3 separate regions of the Homo sapiens genome follow, and all the other regions are linked to region 3. The links are contacts of gene promoters, found by promoter capture Hi-C in blood cells and fetal thymus (Javierre and others, 2016). All regions are on one chromosome and are shown on one strand. The core of a region is centred on a gene start or on the middle of the fragment in contact, and the rest is flanking DNA. Distances in the headings are between cores, read along the strand shown. Region 1 holds the start of OR5D14 (olfactory receptor family 5 subfamily D member 14). Region 2 holds the start of OR5D13 (olfactory receptor family 5 subfamily D member 13). Region 3 has its middle 8.1 kb from the start of OR5D3.

Region 1 (3,294 bases), core at 140-2,639, 64 kb before region 3:
TCTTTCTGGAGCATTAAATTGCCCAAAGCTCATCTTGCCTATTTTCCACCCTAGACTTCAAATTAGCCATTTCTCCAAGAAGCCCTAGTTTTGTTCCTAGGGGAAAGGTTTCTTTTTAGAGAAAATTTGGAGAATGTTGCTTGAATTTGTATAGTATTTGTTACCAAATATTTGTGTTTATTTAGTCATTCATATAAAAGTTAGAAATAATTTTGAAATATGGTTTCTCATTGTTTTCAGATTAAATGTTTATTTTCATTCATTTTGTATAAACTGGACTAAACTTGTAGAGATTTCTGAACCTGATAATACTGGGAATGCTATATCAATTCACATTTGACAATTCCATAAAAACCTCATATAAATATATGCTCTAGGCTTTAGAAACATTGTAGCCTCTGTTTGGGTTGTTCATTTGGATTGAAAACAACTTTTGAGACTGGTTCAGTGAAATGGAACTTGTGTATGTATTAACTTCCAGAAAGCATCCTTCACGTCTTTATTCCTTAGGCTGTAGATCAGAGGGTTCAGCATGGGGTTGACAACTGTGTAAAATACAGAGGCCACTTTGACTGTTTGCCGAGAGTTTTTGGAGTTGGGTACACAGTAAAGGAAAAGGATGGTCCCATGGAAGATGGTGATAGAAGTCAGGTGGGAGGCCCAGGTGGAGAAGGCTTTGTGGCGCCCACTAACAGAACGGATTTTTAGTACAGTCACAAAAATGAAAACATAGGAAGTGAGGATGATCAGTAGTGTACACATCTCATTGAAGGTGGCGAAGCTGAAAAGCAGCAGGTGGGGGATGAGTATATCAGAGCCAGACACAGAGATGAGAGCAGTATACTCACAAAAGAAGTGGTTGATTACATTAGGTCCAGAGAAGTTTAACCGGAGAGCATAACAAAGGAGTACCAAGGGGCCAAACATGCCCCAGAGATATGACCCAGCCACCAGCAGGGCACAGAGCCTCTGTGACATGGCCACTGTATAAAGCAGAGGATTGCAGATGGCCACAAAGCGGTCATAGGCCATCACTGCCAGCAAGAAAGACTCTGTCACCACAGCAGTGCAGGACAGGAAGTACTGCATCATGCAGCTAAAGTAGAAGATGCTTTTATCTGCCATTACCAAGTTCTCAAGCAGCTTGGGAGTGACAATGGAAGAGTAACAAAAATCAACAAAAGAGAGGTGACTAAGGAAAAAGTACATAGGAGTGTGAAATTTGGGGTTAATCTTGATTATTATGATCATCCCAAGGTTTCCTACCACTGTGATAACATACATGAGCAGAAACACAAGGAAGAGAGGAATCTGAAGCTTTGGGTAATCTGTGAAACCTAAAAGGGCAAAGGTGGGCTCCATGCTCAGATTCCTTAAAACCATCATCATAATTCCTTTTAATGGAAGGGTTGAAGAGAATTGTTCCTGCCAAAGCAAAATATGGGGTGAGTGATAATTATGTCATGACTTTCTTTGATTAAAAGGAAAAAAGGAGAAGGAATAGTTACTGGTCCTAGTTTTGTCCAAGAAGAACATACCTCATGCAGGCAGCTGTTATGTCTAAAACAAACCAAGCCAAGTCTTTGGAGTGTCTTTCCATTTTTATTACACTTTCTGTTTTCATACATATATATATGTGTGAATATATATGTGTATGTGTATGTGTGTGTATATGTGTACAGTAGTATACATGTCTACACATTAACTAGTAGCATGACATGCACATAACTTATAGAAAATGTTTATACATAAATATATAAACTAATAAAGATTCTGTGGAAAATGTAAAATATTTACATCAAACAACAACATGCATTGCTACTGTATTTGTTTATATAGACAAATTGATTAAAATATTCAGAATATATTTCTATTCTAAGGATAAAGGAAAATATTGTAGAAATCTGGAAAAAGAGCACACTAATTCCACTTTTTACCAACTTTTATTCTAGAAAGGCTACTTCTCTCATTGAATATCTTAGTTGCTGAGGAGTTGACAAGGACAATGGCCTACTTTTGACCTCTTGGTGGAATGGGCATTTTATTGGGGTTTATGACTTAAGGGTCAGCATCTACTATAGCTCAGGTATTGCATAAGTATCTTATAAGAGTCTCAAGATTTATCAGGTGAAAGTTCCCTTAAGCCTGACTAGTTTTCAATCTTATAAAAATTTACACACTAATTTAAGATGAATATAAAGGAAATATGGATAAATATCCATTTCCAAGTAGCAAGTTTATACTATTCATCATGAGATAATTTTCAATGGATATAAGGCTAAATATTTTCATGAGTGTTGACCTCATTTTTTAATATTATTGGGCACAGAATTGAATAACACAGTGATTTAACATTTAAAAAATCAAAGGCCCCATTTGCCGTATCAGGAAGACCCTATTTTCAGTTTCATAGAAAGCCTGAATACACTTACCTGCTACATACAAAGAAACAGGCTGCCACCCTCCTGTCTCTTCAGACAGTGTATACCTGAGGCACCAAGACTCTTTCATTTAACTTCATAGCCCTAGGGACTCAAACTCTGGAGAATCACTAACAACTTACTCTTTACAAGCATCAAAACAGGCAATTAAGGCAAATACCAAGTCTCTTGTGTCACATTTAGTGACTGGAATTTCCTTGAAACTACTCAGAAAAAAAAATGCAGCATGAAGTTAACTATCAAGCTTTGCTTGCATGTAATTCAAATTACAATAAAACTTTAAATACTTGCCTCATCTGTTCCAAAATTCAGTGCACCTCTTAGTGAGATATAATCTATCCTGCATGCATCCTGGGTATAAATATGCAGCAGCCAATAGCACTCCTATTCCTGAAAACACAAGTAAATTTCATAATCAAGTGCTACAGATGTCCGTGGCCCATACCTTGCTGTATTGCTTCTTCTTGCTCAGCCTGAATTTGTGTCTCATGGGGCATTCCCTATGGCAACCTGAATGTGGAAGAAAGCATAGGAGCCTCATTTTCAGATGATTCCCCATGATATGCTGGCCCACACAAAAGTGAATAACTGCAGGACTGTAATCCTACCTTAAGGTGGCCCTGAAAAGCAACAGTTAAAGACAAATATTCTAGTATTTACAAATTCAAAAAGTATGCTTGGAACATGAGGAACACCTTTTGAAACTTAGTTACAGGGCAGGTTCTTTGGCAATACCTTAGAAGGATGGAGTAATAGCCTCCTGAATATATTATATGCTTGAAATCTGCAACCAACATACATTGCTGTTCCTCCAATAATTTGTGAGACCTAGAACTTTCCCATAAGAGAAACC
Region 2 (3,060 bases), core at 395-2,894, 42 kb before region 3:
ACTTATGGCTCTTTTGTTCCACACGAATATCCAGTTTTCCCATTATTATTTTTCTCCATTGAATTATAATGGCCTGTTTGTTGGAATATAAGTTACCAGATATGTGTGACTTCATTTTAGGACTCTGTTACCTTAATATCCCATTGCCTGAATACTCAGATAATTTTTTAGAATAAAATAGGGCATGCATTAAGAAAGGTAGAGTAATACTTAATTCCATTTCATTTGCTAATCAGCAGGCTATAATTTTCATGAATAAAAATCAACTTCTTCCATTCAAAACAAGAAAAAGTAAAGGGTTGGTTGTTCCACAAGACACAGTAAGCAGAAGTTTTGTTAAAGTCACTCAGGAATATGGTTTTCCTGATTACAATTTTAGGGAACCATCCTGAATCTGCACACATTTAATCAGTTTGAATCAGTTTTGCTTTGAAAATACACATAAAATTACAGAATACCTAGAAAAGTATTTTAAAATAATTTACAAATACTGCAACAGATGATATAAAAGCTTTAGGTTTTAGAATTTTTAGTTACATGTCATTTAGATCTATTTCAAAAGGTTGTGCTGGTGTGAATGTGTCAACTGATAGTCTATTGATTAAATAATTTGAATAATCAATTGCACTGTAAGAGATGGGTAATCTGTAAGATAGTAAATCACTTTTTTCAGAAATAACGTATCTAAGAACATCATATTCAGTGGTAAATCAATTTGGTGACAACTAATTTTTCAAACATGTTATTGATATCTTTGTTCCTAAGGCTGTAGATCAATGGGTTCAGCATTGGAATCGCCACTGTGTAAAACACAGAAGCCACTGTAACTATGAGGCTAGAAGTTTTAGGATTAGGAACACAGTAAAGGAAAAGGATAGTTCCATGGAAGATAGTGATGGCTGTCAGGTGGGAGGCACAGGTGGAGAAAGTTTTCTGGCGCCCACTTGCAGATCGCATCTTCATAATGGTAGTGAAAATAAGCATATATGATGTCAGAATGATAATTAGGCTGCTCACCTCATTGAATATGGCAATAATAAAGCATAGCCTCTGGCTGATATAGGGGTCTGAGTAGGAGGCAGAAACAATTACAGAGTGGTCACAGATAAAATTATTTATGAAGGTAGATTCACAAAACGATAAGTCAAGAAGAAAATATGTGAGTATCAGGGAGCACACTATCCCCCATGTATAGGACCCAGCCACCAGAAGAGCACAGAGCTTCTGAGACATAATAGTGGTATACAGCAAGGGTTTACAAACTGCCACAAAACGGTCATAAGCCATCGCTGCTAACATGAAAGTTTCTGTCACTCCAAAAATGCAAGCAAAACAAAATTGCATGATGCAACCAGAGAAAGAGATGGTTCTGTATTCCACAACCAAGTTCTCCAACAGTTTAGGTGTAACTACAGTGGAAAAACAGAAGTCTGTCAAGGACAAGTGACTAAGGAAAAAGCACATGATTGTATGGAGTTTTGAATTGAGTCTGATGATTATTATCATGCCCAAGTTCCCCACTACAGTGACTGTGTAGACGAACAAGAAAACCAGAAAGAGTGGAACCTGGATTTCTGGGTATTCTGAAAAACCCAAGAGAATAAAAGTGGGTGTGCTGCTTTGATTTCTTTCAGATGCCATCATGATACTTGTTGGATTAAAAGGAAAAAAGTTATTCTTGAAAAGCAGAACTGGATAGGAAAAAAGAGATAGGAAAGAGGCTTCATGTGTTTCTAGGACAAGTGATATAGAACAGTGATTCTCAAAATGTGGTCATCAAACCAGCAGTAGCATCACCTCCTGGGAACTTCCTACTATTGCCAATTCTCCAGCTCCATCAACCTTCTGAACAGAAGCTCTGGGATGAGGCCCACTATTTGTGGTTTAGTCAAGTCTCCAGGTGATTTTGATGCCTGCTAAAGGGCAAAAACCACCACTTACATGGAAAATATACAGTAATCATTCTATTATTGAAAAGTCAGCCATTTTTAGTATGATTGACATAGAACTGAAATATATATTATGACATAAAATCAATTTTTAAAAACTGAGAAGCACAAAGGAAACCTTCTCATGGATCTAAAAATTACACTGAGGATCAAGTAGGTGATTTAGCACCGCCAATGGTGGCACATAAATGTTACTATTTTCTACCTTTGCTGGGCATAACACAGAATTAAATGATTGTAGAATTTAAGAATTTAAATAAACCATAAAATGTATATAGCCTATGCCTTGCACCTAATCCTCAAGAGTTTGCTGTGGAAGCCCATTTCTAAGATGTTTATGTAGCTTCCATTAAAACTTTCATCAATGTACATTGCCTCCTGGAGTGTTTTTATGGGCATTTTGACAATTTGCTGAACTTTTATTATTTTATTAAATAAAGTCAATTAATTAAATTTCCATTACCTGTTCCTTGATGTGCTTTAGGTCACATCTTCTGAGATATACATATATATGTATACATGTATGCACATAATATGTATTCTATATGTGCTAATACAGAATATGTTAGAAAAATAGAAACATCTGTAGTTGTCAAAAATATTTTCATACAAAATATATTCTCTGATACCCTGAAAGTTGTATAATGAAAATTACACATGTTCTTAACCAATAAGAAATAAATAATCTCTCTTTCTTTTTTTTTTTTTTTGAGCTTGAGGCAATTTTATTGAAATTAGTGGTAAGAATGAAAGATTACAGCCAATCTAAAATCAGTGGGCTACATCAAATTATAAACAAAGGTTGTAATCTAGTCATTCAACATGCACTGTTTATATGGAGTTATTTCTATTTATTTATTTTTGTTTGCTTGTTTTTGAGACAGGGTCTCACTCTGTCACCCAGGCTAGAGTGCAGTGGCAAGATCAATGCTCACTGCAGCCTCGAACTCCCAGGCTCAAGTGATCCTCCTCAGTAGATGGGACTACAGGCATGCACCACCACACTAGGATAATTTCTTATTTTTCTCTAGAGACAGGGTCTCACTATGTTGCCCAGGGTGTTCTCAAACTTCTGAGCTCAAGCGGTTATCTCTCTTTCATGATAAGACAA
Region 3 (3,353 bases), core at 373-2,872:
TACTTTTCAAATTACTATAGGCAATAGCATTACTAAACATCTGCCCTACATAACAAGAATATTCCTTTCTACAACTTCCAATAATATTTTTCTCACTCACCTGGAATCTCTAAACTGTAATCTTATCAAAGACCTCCAAAACATATTAAGATTTCAATGATATTTTGTTCAAAACTGACTGCTCATTTCCAAAGCCACCTTAACATCTTGGGTTTTTATTTGGCAACAATATATTCCCAGGCACCAAAAATCCACTGATATAGTTTGACTCTGCGTCCCCACCCAACTCTCATGTCGATTGTGATCCTCAGTGTTGCAGGAGGGACCTGGTAGGTGATTCACAGAGGCGGACTTCCCCCTTGCTGTTCTCCTGATGGTAAATGAGTTCTCAGAAAATCTGGTGGTTTAAAGTGTGTACACTTCCCCTTTTACTCTGTCTCTCCTGCCAGCCATGAGAAGACATTCCTGCTTCCTCTTCACCTTTCTGCCATGATTGAAAGTTTCCTGAGGCCTCCTTAGACCTGCCTCCTGTACACCCTGTGAACTGTATGTCAATTAAACCTCTTTTCTTCATAAATCACCAAGTCTCAAGGTAGTTCTTGATAGAAGTGTGAGAACTGACTAATACAGTTGCATTAATTATTCATTGACAGCTAAAAAGTATCCCCAAAACTTCGCAGTTTGAAACAATAAACACTGATTACCTCATGGTTTCTATGCATCAGAAATCCAGGAGCAGCTTAGCTCCAAGTTTAGAGTCTCCCATGAGGTTGCAACCAGCCTTCCAGAGCTACAGTAATCTCAAGGCTTAAACAATGTCAAACTTCTGCATCCAAGCTCACTCACAAGGTTGCTGGCACCTCTTGTTCCTTGAAGGCTGTTGGCCAGAAGCTTAGGTTCCTCATCCCAAAGGTCCCTTCACAGGGTTATTCAAATATGGCCACTTCCTCCCGAATGAGAGACCTAATGTAGGTGGAAAAAGACAGAGAGAGAGAATCCAGACTGTTAAGACTGAACCTCAAGTATTATGTATTCTCATTCCTACCACATGCTATTCATCACACAGACCAAGCCAGGTAAAGTATGGGAGGAGACTCCACAATGATGTGAATACCAGAGAATGGGATCATTGGGGGTTCCATGTATGGCTGACTACCACAATCACTGGGAGTAAAATTCAAAAGATAGAGGTGGGACAATAAGAGTGTCTGGTAAGGAATTATGCAAGAGAGGCAAGCTGAAGGTTACTTTTTGAATGGTTTGCGACAGCTTACTCAAGTGTGATATGTGTTGCCTCCATAACTGAAAGACGCAGTACATTTTAAATCACTTAATTGCAGTACAAATTGCCCTAAGTTGTCATTTGCTTTGGAGAGGATATCTCAACATTCTGCAGAACACAAGATCAAAAGAATTCTTTTCTGATGTTAAGAATACTTGTATTTTTATAGGATTTATTTAAGACATCATCTCTGACACATCAGTTTCTCACTAAGAAATTGAGGACACTTGCCCAGTGTCTTAAATATCTCTAGTTCTCTGACAGTAAATTATGCCAACATTTGGATGCCCTGAATTTTTATTATCTTTTTGCAAGCTCTCCCAGGCATTCAGAAGATCCCAGTTCTTGTAATCACCACCACTTCCATGACAGTTTTGTGAAACCCCCACCTCAGTCCTCCAGGCATTTGATTCAGTGAGCACTTCATTATAATCATGCACAAAGGATTATTTAGTTAGCCACGTTACTATACACCATGGATTACTGAATACAATTTCTATTTTAAAGATGCTTAGCCCTGTCTTCACGGCCAAGTGTATGATTAGATACCCATATTTGAAGGTCTAGTTCAGAGAACATTATTACCAAGAGTCTGAGTCTATTCGAGAAAAACACAATCTTTTCTAGGGATTTCAAAACATAACATTTAGTACAGAAAAATTATTTTTACAATTGTTAAACAATTGATGAAAAGGCAAAAACCCCACAAAACCTTAATATACCACAGTAGTGGTTACTGCAGAAAAGAACTACTATCTCTAAAGCTGAGGGATGCTGGGATTAATACAATGTGGAAGGATGTAGACAGATATCACAGATCTAGGAAAAAAAATGTTAATTATCTTACATTGAGAGATCTTTTACATTCCCTTACTAACTCTAATTGGTTTTGATAGATCTTTTTGGATTTGGATGTTCATACAATTATATTATCTTAAAACATGAAAGTGTTATTCTGTCTTCACTAATGTTCTTTTTTTCCTGTCTTACTCAATTGTCTAGAACAACCTTTCCACAGAAGTGGAAATAATGAACATTCTTCTCTTGAGTTGAAATTTAAAACAAAGCTTCTATTATTTCTTTTCTCTTTTTTGTTGTTTTTTCATTTTGTTTTGCTTTTTTTTGAGACAGAGTCTCACTCTGTCTCCAGGCTGGAGTGCAGTGGTGCGATCTCGGCTCACTGAAACCTCCAACTCCCTGGTTCAAGCCATTCTCCTGCTTCAGCCTCCTGAGCAGCTGGTATCACAAGCACACACCACCACGCCCAGCTAATTTTTGTATTTTTAGTAGAGACGGAGTTTTGCCATGTTGGCCAGGATGGTCTCAATCTCCCGACTTTGTGATCCGCCCACCTCGGCCTCCCAAATTGCTGGGATTACAGGCAGGAGCCACTGCACCTAGCCGATTATTTTAACCTTAATTGTGATATTTACCTACAGATTTGGTAGGTAAAAGATTAAGACATTTCTATTTCTATTTTTCTGGGAGCTTTTGTTTTCTTCTGTTTTGTTTTATTATGAACAAGTGCATAAAAGTTAATTGTATGCATCAATTAACTGGGCCACAGGGTGCCCAGATATTCAGTCAAACATTATTATGGATGTTTTTATAAGGGTGTTTTTGGATGAGATTAACAACTAAATCAATCAGTAGCCTAAGTAAAGTAGATTGCCTTTGCTAATGGGGATGGGACGCGTCCATCAGTAAATGCCTGAGTCTAACAAAAGGCTACTTCTCTCCCAAGCAAAGGAAAATTCTTTCCTCTTTCTGCCTTTGAACTGAGACATTAGGTGTTTGCCTATAGACTGAAACTGGAACATCAGCTCTTCATGGGTCTCAAAACTGTTGACCTTCTGACTGGAAATACACCCCTGGCTCTCTAGTTCTTGGGCCTTCCAAATTAGACTAGAATTTCATCATTGGCTCCCCTGGGATCCAGCTTGCTAATTTACCCTGAAGTTCTCAGCATTTGTCAGCCTTTATAATCGCATGAGCTAATTCTTTAAAATAAATAAATACCTCTCTATGGACAGATATAGATATAGCTAAGCAGATATCCATCCCCTTGGTT

The links. The method cuts DNA at HindIII sites, captures the fragments that hold promoters and counts their contacts. A CHiCAGO score of 5 or more calls a contact.
Region 1: a contact is called between the fragment with the promoter of OR5D14 here and a fragment that was not itself captured in region 3, in 1 of 17 cell types (neutrophils). The highest score is 5.2, in neutrophils.
Region 2: the fragment with the promoter of OR5D13 here is called in contact with a fragment that was not itself captured in region 3 in 1 of 17 cell types (neutrophils); the score reaches 5.6 in neutrophils.

Annotation. Positions count from the first base shown.
Region 1 is chr11:55,793,651-55,796,944 of GRCh38, reverse strand. OR5D14 (olfactory receptor family 5 subfamily D member 14) reads right to left here and starts at 1,389. Exons shown (of 1, transcript NM_001004735.1): 1 at 445-1,389. The coding sequence starts at 1,389. The coding sequence ends at 445. The HindIII fragment of the contact is 1,368 bases long and covers 1,320-2,687 here.
Region 2 is chr11:55,772,022-55,775,081 of GRCh38, reverse strand. OR5D13 (olfactory receptor family 5 subfamily D member 13) reads right to left here and starts at 1,644. Exons shown (of 1, transcript NM_001001967.1): 1 at 700-1,644. The coding sequence starts at 1,644. The coding sequence ends at 700. The HindIII fragment of the contact is 6,164 bases long and covers 514-3,060 here.
Region 3 is chr11:55,730,184-55,733,536 of GRCh38, reverse strand. No RefSeq gene overlaps it. Among named protein-coding and RNA genes, the nearest start is that of OR5D3, 8.1 kb to the right of the region's middle. The HindIII fragment of the contact is 1,458 bases long and covers 894-2,351 here.